Linked DNA regions of Homo sapiens: region 2 is linked to region 1. The links are contacts of gene promoters, found by promoter capture Hi-C in blood cells and fetal thymus (Javierre and others, 2016). All regions are on one chromosome and are shown on one strand. Each heading gives the region's core, a stretch centred on a gene start or on the middle of the fragment in contact. The rest is flanking DNA. Distances are from core to core; before and after follow the strand shown.

Region 1 (4,255 bases), core at 449-2,948:
TTCAGTCTTCTTAACCCTGTATGGCCTGGGCTGTGGTTCTGCTACACAAGAAGCTTTAGCACTGCACTGGACCCTGTAAGTTTGTGATGCTTCTATCAGATGTTCCAGGCACTCCTGCCAACTGGGGTGCATGGAGAGTGGCCTAGCGGAATAGAGTCTTTGTCCTCCCACCCCGAAGCCCAGGATCTCTGCCTGTGGGAATATCACGTGTGAGGGACTTGAAAATCTTCACGAGTCATGTAGTTAAAATGACAGTTGTTGAGGGAGGAAAAAAAAAAGCAACTGTAAACACATATGACACTCTAGTCAATGATATGCACGATGACGTATTTAGTGAGGTGTCCTGATGTCTGCAATTTATTTGGAGATGCATCAAAATGTAGGCTGGATTCGTGGATGTCTAGAACAGTGCGTGATAGTTATGTGACACAGCAAGTATAGCAGCAGTTAATGGCAGAATGTAGGTGGTGGGTATACAGATGACCACTATAAAATTCTTGCTGTACATCTGAACATTTTCAAAATAAAGTATTGGGGAAACCACACACACAATAAACAAAAAGACTGTTGTTAAAAGTTCCCCGTTCTGTCAGCAAATCTCCAGCGGACCTAGTGTTCTGTCTCTGCCAGGACTGTCTCCTATCGACCTGGGGGTGGTTTGGCTTAGATGTTACTTCCAGGAAGCCCTCCCAGGGCCGCAAAGACAGGGTGAAGCGCCCCTCCTCTGCATGCACCGTACTTCCTCAGCTCAGCACGGACTTCCCTGTACTGTGAGGGCTCTACCCCAGCAGGAACTACAGCACCACGTCTGCTACACAGAGAGCCCTCAACCAACCTCTGTGAATGCCATCGCCCAGCCTCTCTGTCCTCTGTCACCCGGGCGCCTAGCCAACAGCCAGGACCATGGCAGATGCTCAGCGACCCTGGACCTCCCGGTGAGATCCGCGGCCAGTCCTGCCCAGGCCTCTTTTCCGTCCTAGGTGGCCCTCTTCACATGCCATGCCCCGGCCCCATCAGGACCTTCCCTGCCGCGTCCCCTTCGGCGCCTCTCCTCCACCCAGCTCCTTTTCCGAGGACCCCTCCCTCACCCAGCCGCCCTCCTATACCCCACCTAGCTGAGAACTGAGAACCCTTTACCCGCCGGCCCTCCCCAGCTGGGAACCCCACCGCGTCCTTCCCGCACCGATTTTGCCCGGCGGGGCATCTCCGCCAGCAGCGGCGGCGGCGAGGAGCGCGGTCAACGCGGCGAGCAGCGGGGCTGCGCGGGCCATGGCGGGCGGCGAGCGGGCAGCACGCCGGATTCAGGCGCTAGCGGGTTGGCGCTCGGCTCTCCGCCCCGCCCCGGCGCCCCACTGGCAGTCCCGCCTTCCTGCCGCGCCAGACCCAGCTCCGCATTGGCCAAGCCGCCGTCCCTCTCCAGCACGAGGCCCTCATTAGCTCCATCTCTCTCGGGGTAGGCTCTCTCATTGGCAGCTTCCCCGTTCCGCCCCGCCCCCCGCATGCGGGCTCCTCATTGGCTGGGTTCATTCTTGCCCGGCGCAGGTGTGCCCGCTTCGGGTCCTCAGCATCAGGACCAGGGCCCAGCTGCGGCAGAGGGATGAAACAGACCAAAGTGAAGCTTTGAAGACCTCGGTTATGTCCAGCCTCTGCGTTATTAGCTCTGTATCTTCTCTGTGTCTGTTTCCTCTATTATAACACAGACGAAGAATCCTGCTCCACCTTTCTAGGTGGTTGTAACCATCTTATGAGATAAGGGAAGCCTTTTGCAGTGTCTGCAAGTGCTGGAAATTGCTGACCAAGCATGCGGCCAGGGTGGTAAGACGCTACCTCATTCATATGCTGACACAAGCCCTATGCTTTCTATACTGCTGTTATTTATGTGTTTGCAGTTTTTATATAGTTAATATCTCTGCTTTCTGCTTCCTAAAAACCAAAAGGCGGGGGAAGGTTTCATCTACTCTCTTTTCAGAAAGGAGAAAAGGAGGGATAAACTCCCATTTTCATCCTCTAAGAAGACAAGAGCAGCAGCTCAGACTTGCTAGTTTATCACGCTGTGAAAAACAGACTTCCTCTGGCAGAAAATAAAGTTAGGGATGAGTTTCAGAATAAAGAAAATCCGGAGGCTGGGGGTGGCTCAAGCCTGTAATCCCAGCATTTTGGAAGGTCAGGCGGGAGGATCGCTTAGGCCAGCAGTTTGAGACCAGCCTGGGCAACATAATGAGACTCTGAGACCCCGTCTCTTAAAAAAAAAAAATTCGCCAGGAGTGGTGGTGCACACCTGTAGTCCTAGCTATTCAGGAGGCAGAGGTGGGAGGCTTGAGACCGGTAGTTTGAGGTTACAGTGTTCTATGATTGTGCCACTGCACTCCAGCCTGAGTGACAAGAGTCCCTGTCTTTAAAAATAAATAAATATATAAAAATAAATGAAATCCATATTTACTCAGTGAGATTATGGCTAAAATAAGAAACTGGGCCGGGCACAGTGGCTCATGCCTGTAATCCCAGCAGTTTGGGAGGCCGAGGTGGGCAGATCACTTGAGGTCAGGAGTTCGAGACCAGCTCGGCCATCATGGTGAAACCTCATCTCTGCTAAAATGCAAAAATTAGCTGGGCTTGGTGGTGTGCGCCTGTAATCCCAGCTACTCGGGAGGCTGGGGCAGGAGAATCGCTTGAACCTGGGAGGCACATGTTGCAGTGAGCCGAGATTGTACCACTGCACTCCACCGTGGGTGACAGAGCGAGACTCTGACTCAAACAAAAACAAAAACAAAAAACTGAAGTGATTCAGAGAATGGTGAAAGAGCTTATAGCTGGGGTTCTAACTCAGCACTGAGACTTAATTTACTTGGGCCAAACTGGATTACTACTAGTAAACTGGTAGATGAATAATCATGCATTTGTCATAATCTTAAACTTTTTTTTTTGGCAATGTTTGTGTCAGGATGCAACACCTTTTAAGTTCATTTCCAAAGGTTCAAGATACTCCCTTAAACAGTTTTTAAAACAAGCACTCATTGACCACTATGTGCCAAATTCTCTTATGAACTTATTCTGATTCTTGTCATTTTTTTGTAGGGTAAATCATGTTAGTGTTCAAATTCATCTTCTTGACTATACTTTGCTTGTAATTTTAGGGTCCTTTGTAACTCTTAAATCTAGAGCTGTTTTTTTCTGTTAGGAAGCCCTTCCAACCCTACTAGCCCATTGACAATGTGTGCGCTCATCAACATTGTAAGAGAGGTTCGAAAGAGCTGATAAGGGAAAAGCAAGTAGGCACAATTCTTGTGGCACAAAGGTGCCAGACTGGGAATGCAGTGGGGTGACTGTATCATTTTATCTGCTGTTGTGTAACAAACCATTAAAAAATGTAGTGGCTTAAAGTAACAGTCATCTGTTTTGCTCACACTACACCTCAGGCAGGACTCAGTGAGATCAGCTCATCTGTTCCATGTGGTATCATTTGGGGCTGCTCCACTGGGTGTGGGAGGATCCACCTTCAAGATGGCTCACTGGCTGGCAAGACAGTGCTGGCTCAGCTGAAAGCTCAACCAGGGCCCTCAGTTCCATTCCACAGGCTACTTCAGTTTGCTCTTGGCACGATGGTAAGGTTCCAGGGGTGAGCATCCCAAGACAGGAAGTGGGGATACCAGTTTCTTAAGATCTGGGTCCAGAAAATGGCAGTGTCACTTCCACTGTATTCTATTGGTCAAGCAATCACAAAGCTCCAAGGAAACTCAAGAATGGACATGGGCCCTACTCAACAAAGGTGTCAAGAAATTCTGGAGCCATGTTTTAAAACTACAGTGAACTTGAGAGCATGGACATCTGAGTGGATAGGAATAAGAATATACTCACTGACTAGCACTGGGAATATGGGACACATGGTTTATGGAGCTACAGTGTACAGACAGTATTGGAAAGATAATGAAAACGCAAGACCAAATCCCAGGGAAGGCTGGCCCAACAGAGGGCCATTCAGCCAGGAGTCTAGGTATATGGAAGCTAGCTGAGAAGCAGAGGTAAAGACAAGGCCAGGCAGTCACAAGGTGGGAAGGACATGGGGAAGCTGAAGGTCAGAACAAGGCCAAGTGTCTGTAATCTGGTTAGGAGAATAGTCAGCAGTAGTCAAAGGAAATAAGACACCTAGAACCAAAAGGCGAACCCAAGAAAACAAGTCAATGCCAGAAAAGAAGGCAGAAATAGGGCTGGGAACAGTGGCTCAGGCCTGTGAGCCCAGCACTTTGGGAAGCCGAGG
Region 2 (4,255 bases), core at 742-3,241, 1.0 Mb before region 1:
CTTATCTGTGAAGTACCATAGCTGCGGTAGGAAGAGCAAGTGAGGTTCAGAGAAACTGGGAAAAGCATACATAACGTCTTAGGGCCCATCACCCTTTAGTCCCTCCAGGAGGTTCTGAGAGCAAGCATTAGGAGCAGAGCCTACACCACAGGGCAAAGGGATCTGACTACTTAGGATACTGTCTCACCAGTTCAAAACTCTCCATTGGTTTACCACTGCTCTTCCAAGGAAGATCAAACTGCCCACCAGACCACTCCAGCCAGCCCCTGCCTCCATCTCCCCAGGGGCATCTGGCCCTTGTACTTCACACTTCAGCCACTATGGACGTTTTTTTTTTTTTTGAGATGGAGTCTCGCCTTGTCACCCAGGATGGAGTGCAGTGGCTCAGTCTCAGCTCAGTGCAACCTCTGCCTCCTGGGTTCAAGTGATTCTCCTGACTCAGCCTCCCGAGTAACTGGGACTACAGGTGCATGCCACCATGCATGGCTAATTTTTGCATTTTTAGTAGAGACAGGGTTTCACCATGTCGGTCAGGCTGGTTTTGAACTCCTGGCCTCAAGTGATCCGCCTGCCTCGGCCTCCCAAAGTGCTGGGATTACAGGCGTGAGCTACCGTACCTGGCCTGCTATGGACTTAAAAAAAATTTTTTTTTGAGACAGTGTCTTGCTCTGTTGCCCAGGCTGGAGTGCAGTGGCATGATCATGGCTCATACTGTATCCTCAAATTCCTGGGCTCAAGAGAGTGGACTTTCTCCAGGCCAGTGTGTACACAAGTTCCCTCCCACCACAAGGCATTTACACCTCAGCTATTCCTGACCAGGGCAATCTGCCATCCATCTCTCTTTTTTTTTTGAGGCAGAGTCTCGCTTTATCGCCCAGGCTGGAGTGCAGTGGCACGATCTTGACTCATTGCAACCTCTGCCTCCCGGGTTCAAGCAATTCTTGTGCCTCAGCCACATGAGTAGCCAGGATTACAGGCGTGCGCCAACATGCCCAGCTAATTTTTGTATTTTTAGTAGAAACGGTGTTTCACCATGTTGGCCAGGCTGGTCTCGAACTTCTGACCTCAGGTGATCCGCTAGTCTCGGCCTCCCTAAGTGCTGGGATTACAGGCGTGAGCTACCGTGCCCGGCCCATCCCTCTCATTCTTAACACTTATTGCGGTGCTAAGCATATAGTCACTTTTGTGATTCTTTGATTTGTCTACCTTACTAGAGTGTAAGCTCCAGGAGGGCTGAGAGATGGTGCTCACCATTCGAACACCAGGAAGCACCCTGAGTACCGGATTAACAGTTGAATTAATCAAGTAAGAAATGACTGTACCACGAGTTCGAGTACCAAAGCTGACCGTCTCAGTACAGACAATCGCTAAAGGCCTGAGTTCCAGCTCAACTAAGAGGCTGTAGGGTCCCTTTTCCAGGCGCTCCCCCGAGGGGCTGGTCGCAATCCACCCCCGAGACTCGCAGCAACCTCCTTGCCCCAGGGGGGGCCGCGCAGAGCCTAGCCACGTGGCGGGAGACTTAGGAAACTTAAAATACCCGCTACCAGGAAGGGCGTGGAGGTAAGGGAAGCGGGAATTACAAAGTTCGGCCCCTGCGAGCACACTTTCTGGCCCAACCCACTGCCCGGATGAGGAAAGTGAGGCCCAGGGGAACTGAAGTCGCAGTGGGAAGGCAGAGATTGCGGCTCCTCCGGTACCCCTGGCCGCGCCGTCGAGCACTGCGGGACCCGGCTCCGGGCGCCTGCCGGGTCGCCTGGGGACGGGGCGCGGGCCGCGGGCCGCTGATCTCCACATCTTGCACGCGGCCCTCGCACACGGCCCACGAACGCTTACCTGGCCGCTCTGCTCCTTCACTTCCCGCGCCGCACGCACATAGCCAGCCCGCAGCAGATGGTGGTAGATCAGGGGAAGTAGCTCCCGCCGCTTCCTGGCCTCGGCCATACCCGCGACCCCCGGCCGGCCGGCTACCTGCACGCCCCGCCTTAGTCCCCGCCCGCCACTTCCCTCGCGCCCTTAGACCTCGCGCGCCACACTTCCGGCTCCTCTTTCGCTCCGGCCGCGCGGCGCGCCGGGAAACGTAGTCCCCTCTCCGGGAGTGGCCGGCCCCGCCCCTCAAGGCGAAGGGGGCGGAGACTCGTGATCAACAATACCGCCCATTGGCGCGGAGCATGCGGGGCTAGACAGGGACCCGCCCCCGGGGCCGGCCGGGACTTGGACGACTCTCTTTTAATCCTTCCGGCTGGCTTCTTGAAGAGATTTATCTTCCTTGTTAATTCTCTGATGGCTGGGTCTGCGTTTTACTCATCTCTGAACTCCCTAATCTGGATCTTTCTCTAGATCCGAACTTTGTACTGCCATTACCTGCTCATTTATCCATTTCGCACGGTTTTTGGTGCCCATGAACCAGACACGAATTGCCAGTTTATTCATTGATTCATTCGCTAACTGAACAAATCTGTAATAAGCACCTAACTTGGGCTAGCACCCGGCTAGGCTAGGGGGATTCAAAAGATGCATAATACATGGCAGTTGCCCTCAAAGCTCACAGAGACGACTGTCCGTAACCAAGCAACTATAGTTCAATATCTTGTGTGCCTTGTCAGGGACAGATGCAGCCTATGGGCGCCCCAAGGAGGAGCACCGAACCCCAGAGAGATATCTAAGCTGAGGCATAAAGACACCCGAAATTGCTGGGTGCAAAGGAGAGGACTGGCAGAGGGCACTGCATGAGTCTAGGCATGAGAAAACACCCTGCTATTGCCTGGGAACCCTAAACCCAGAACCCCTAGTCTGCGCTGCTGGGCTGTCCAGGTGGGGTGGGGTGAGGTGGGGAAGAGGGAACAAATGAGGGCACATGAGGATGAAGAAGTAGACAAGGCCTACAACTCCCCCACCCCCAACAGAGTTTGGACTTTGCTCTGAGGGCATTAGATAGTCTCTGACTGGCTTTTCCGAGGAGGTTGACCCTGTTTTGTGTTTTTAAAAGATTGCTAAAACCAAAGCACATACCATTAATACTAAATGTGAGGCTGTTGTAGTTGTTGAGGGAAGGATGGCAGGGAAAAGGTGAGGTAGGCTGGAGAATGTTAGAGTGAGCTGTTCTTAACTTCACCGACCCATTGAGAATCTGAGGGCAGCATGTTTCTTACGGGCGCAGGAGTCCCTAACCCTAGGAGGTCCAGGTATGTGGTTATCTTTGTCTTGAACTTGAATGGAAAATGTTATGTGTCTGTACACATTCAACATTTCCCATTTTCTTGAGCAAATATTTATTGAGTACCTACCATTGGGGATGGAATAGTCTCTACTCCTATAGAGCTTACAGTCTAGTGATGGAATTGTCTCTACTCCAATAGAGCTTACAGTCTAACGGAGGAGACACATACTAAACTAATAGTCATACAATACAGTGTTACAAACAGCGGGTAAGTGCAGGAAGGAAAAGGATAGTGTTTTCTTATGTAATAATATAGTGTTTAAAAGCTGCACTGGAGTCACACTGCCTGGGTTCAAATTCTGGCTTTGCCTCATTAACTAGGTGACTTTGGGCAAGTCACTGTGACTCAGTTTCTTTATCTGTACAATGGAGATAATTATAATTTCTACCTCACTGGGTTGTCATAAGGAGTAAATGAATTCTCAGCAGAAATGCTTAGAGGAGCTCTGAACAATAGCGCTCTCTGTGTGCGTGTGTGCTATTATTGTGAAAGCATATAACAGGAAGGAGGGATCTATTTTTTTCTTGGGAGTTAGGGAAGGATTCCCTGAGAAATTAATGGTTATGAGGAAACCAGAACTGTGTGTAAGGGAGAGTCAGAGAGAAGAAACCTGAGCAGAGGGAAGAACCTGTGCAAAGGGCCTAGGGCAGAAGGTACAGCTGAGAGAATAGACACAAAAAGGCCTTTGTAGCATAGTCCGGAGGGAGAGCAGGGGGACTGGGGAGTGTAGAAGGTGGGCAGAGGGCAGACTCCATGTGAAGGATTGGCCACATCAGGGTTTTTTTTCCTCCATCCTAAGAGCCATTGGAAGCCACTGACGGTGTAAGCCCAAGAGGTACAGGATGAAATCTGAATTTTACTGTGACCTGTGTGCCTGCCCAGTGGAGAGTGGAGTGTGTCTGGTGGGTATGAGTAGATGTGGGAAGACAAGTCAGGGTTAGGAGTGCAGGCAGGCATCCAGGGAGAAGACAGTGTATGTGGGGGGGGGGGGCGGGTGGTAGGTGGCGGGGGCAGCGGGGAGGGTGCTGGTGGCAGTG

Evidence for each region. Contacts are between HindIII fragments. The CHiCAGO score rates a contact against its expected background, and 5 or more counts as called.
Region 2: a contact is called between the fragment with the promoter of TCOF1 here and the fragment with the promoter of GRPEL2-AS1 in region 1, in 1 of 17 cell types (total CD8 T cells). The highest score is 7.0, in total CD8 T cells.

What each region holds. Positions count from the first base shown.
Region 1 is chr5:149,355,085-149,359,339 of GRCh38, reverse strand. It overlaps GRPEL2-AS1 (GRPEL2 antisense RNA 1), which reads left to right and starts at 1,698. Exons shown (of 2, transcript NR_132366.1): 1 at 1,698-1,815. PCYOX1L (prenylcysteine oxidase 1 like) reads right to left here and starts at 1,294. Exons shown (of 6, transcript NM_024028.4): 1 at 1,184-1,294. The coding sequence starts at 1,271. RefSeq lists silencers at 1,055-1,264, 1,285-1,444, 1,465-1,514 and an enhancer at 1,240-1,534. The HindIII fragment of the contact is 3,429 bases long and covers 1,621-4,255 here.
Region 2 is chr5:150,355,433-150,359,687 of GRCh38, reverse strand. It overlaps TCOF1 (treacle ribosome biogenesis factor 1), which reads right to left and starts at 1,991. Exons shown (of 27, transcript NM_001371623.1): 1 at 1,834-1,991. The coding sequence starts at 1,941. LOC105378226 (a long non-coding RNA gene) reads left to right here and starts at 2,268. Exons shown (of 4, transcript XR_944407.3): 1 at 2,268-3,182; 2 at 4,018-4,120. RefSeq lists silencers at 1,564-1,783, 1,864-2,203 and an enhancer at 2,804-2,973. The HindIII fragment of the contact is 5,465 bases long and covers 1-4,255 here.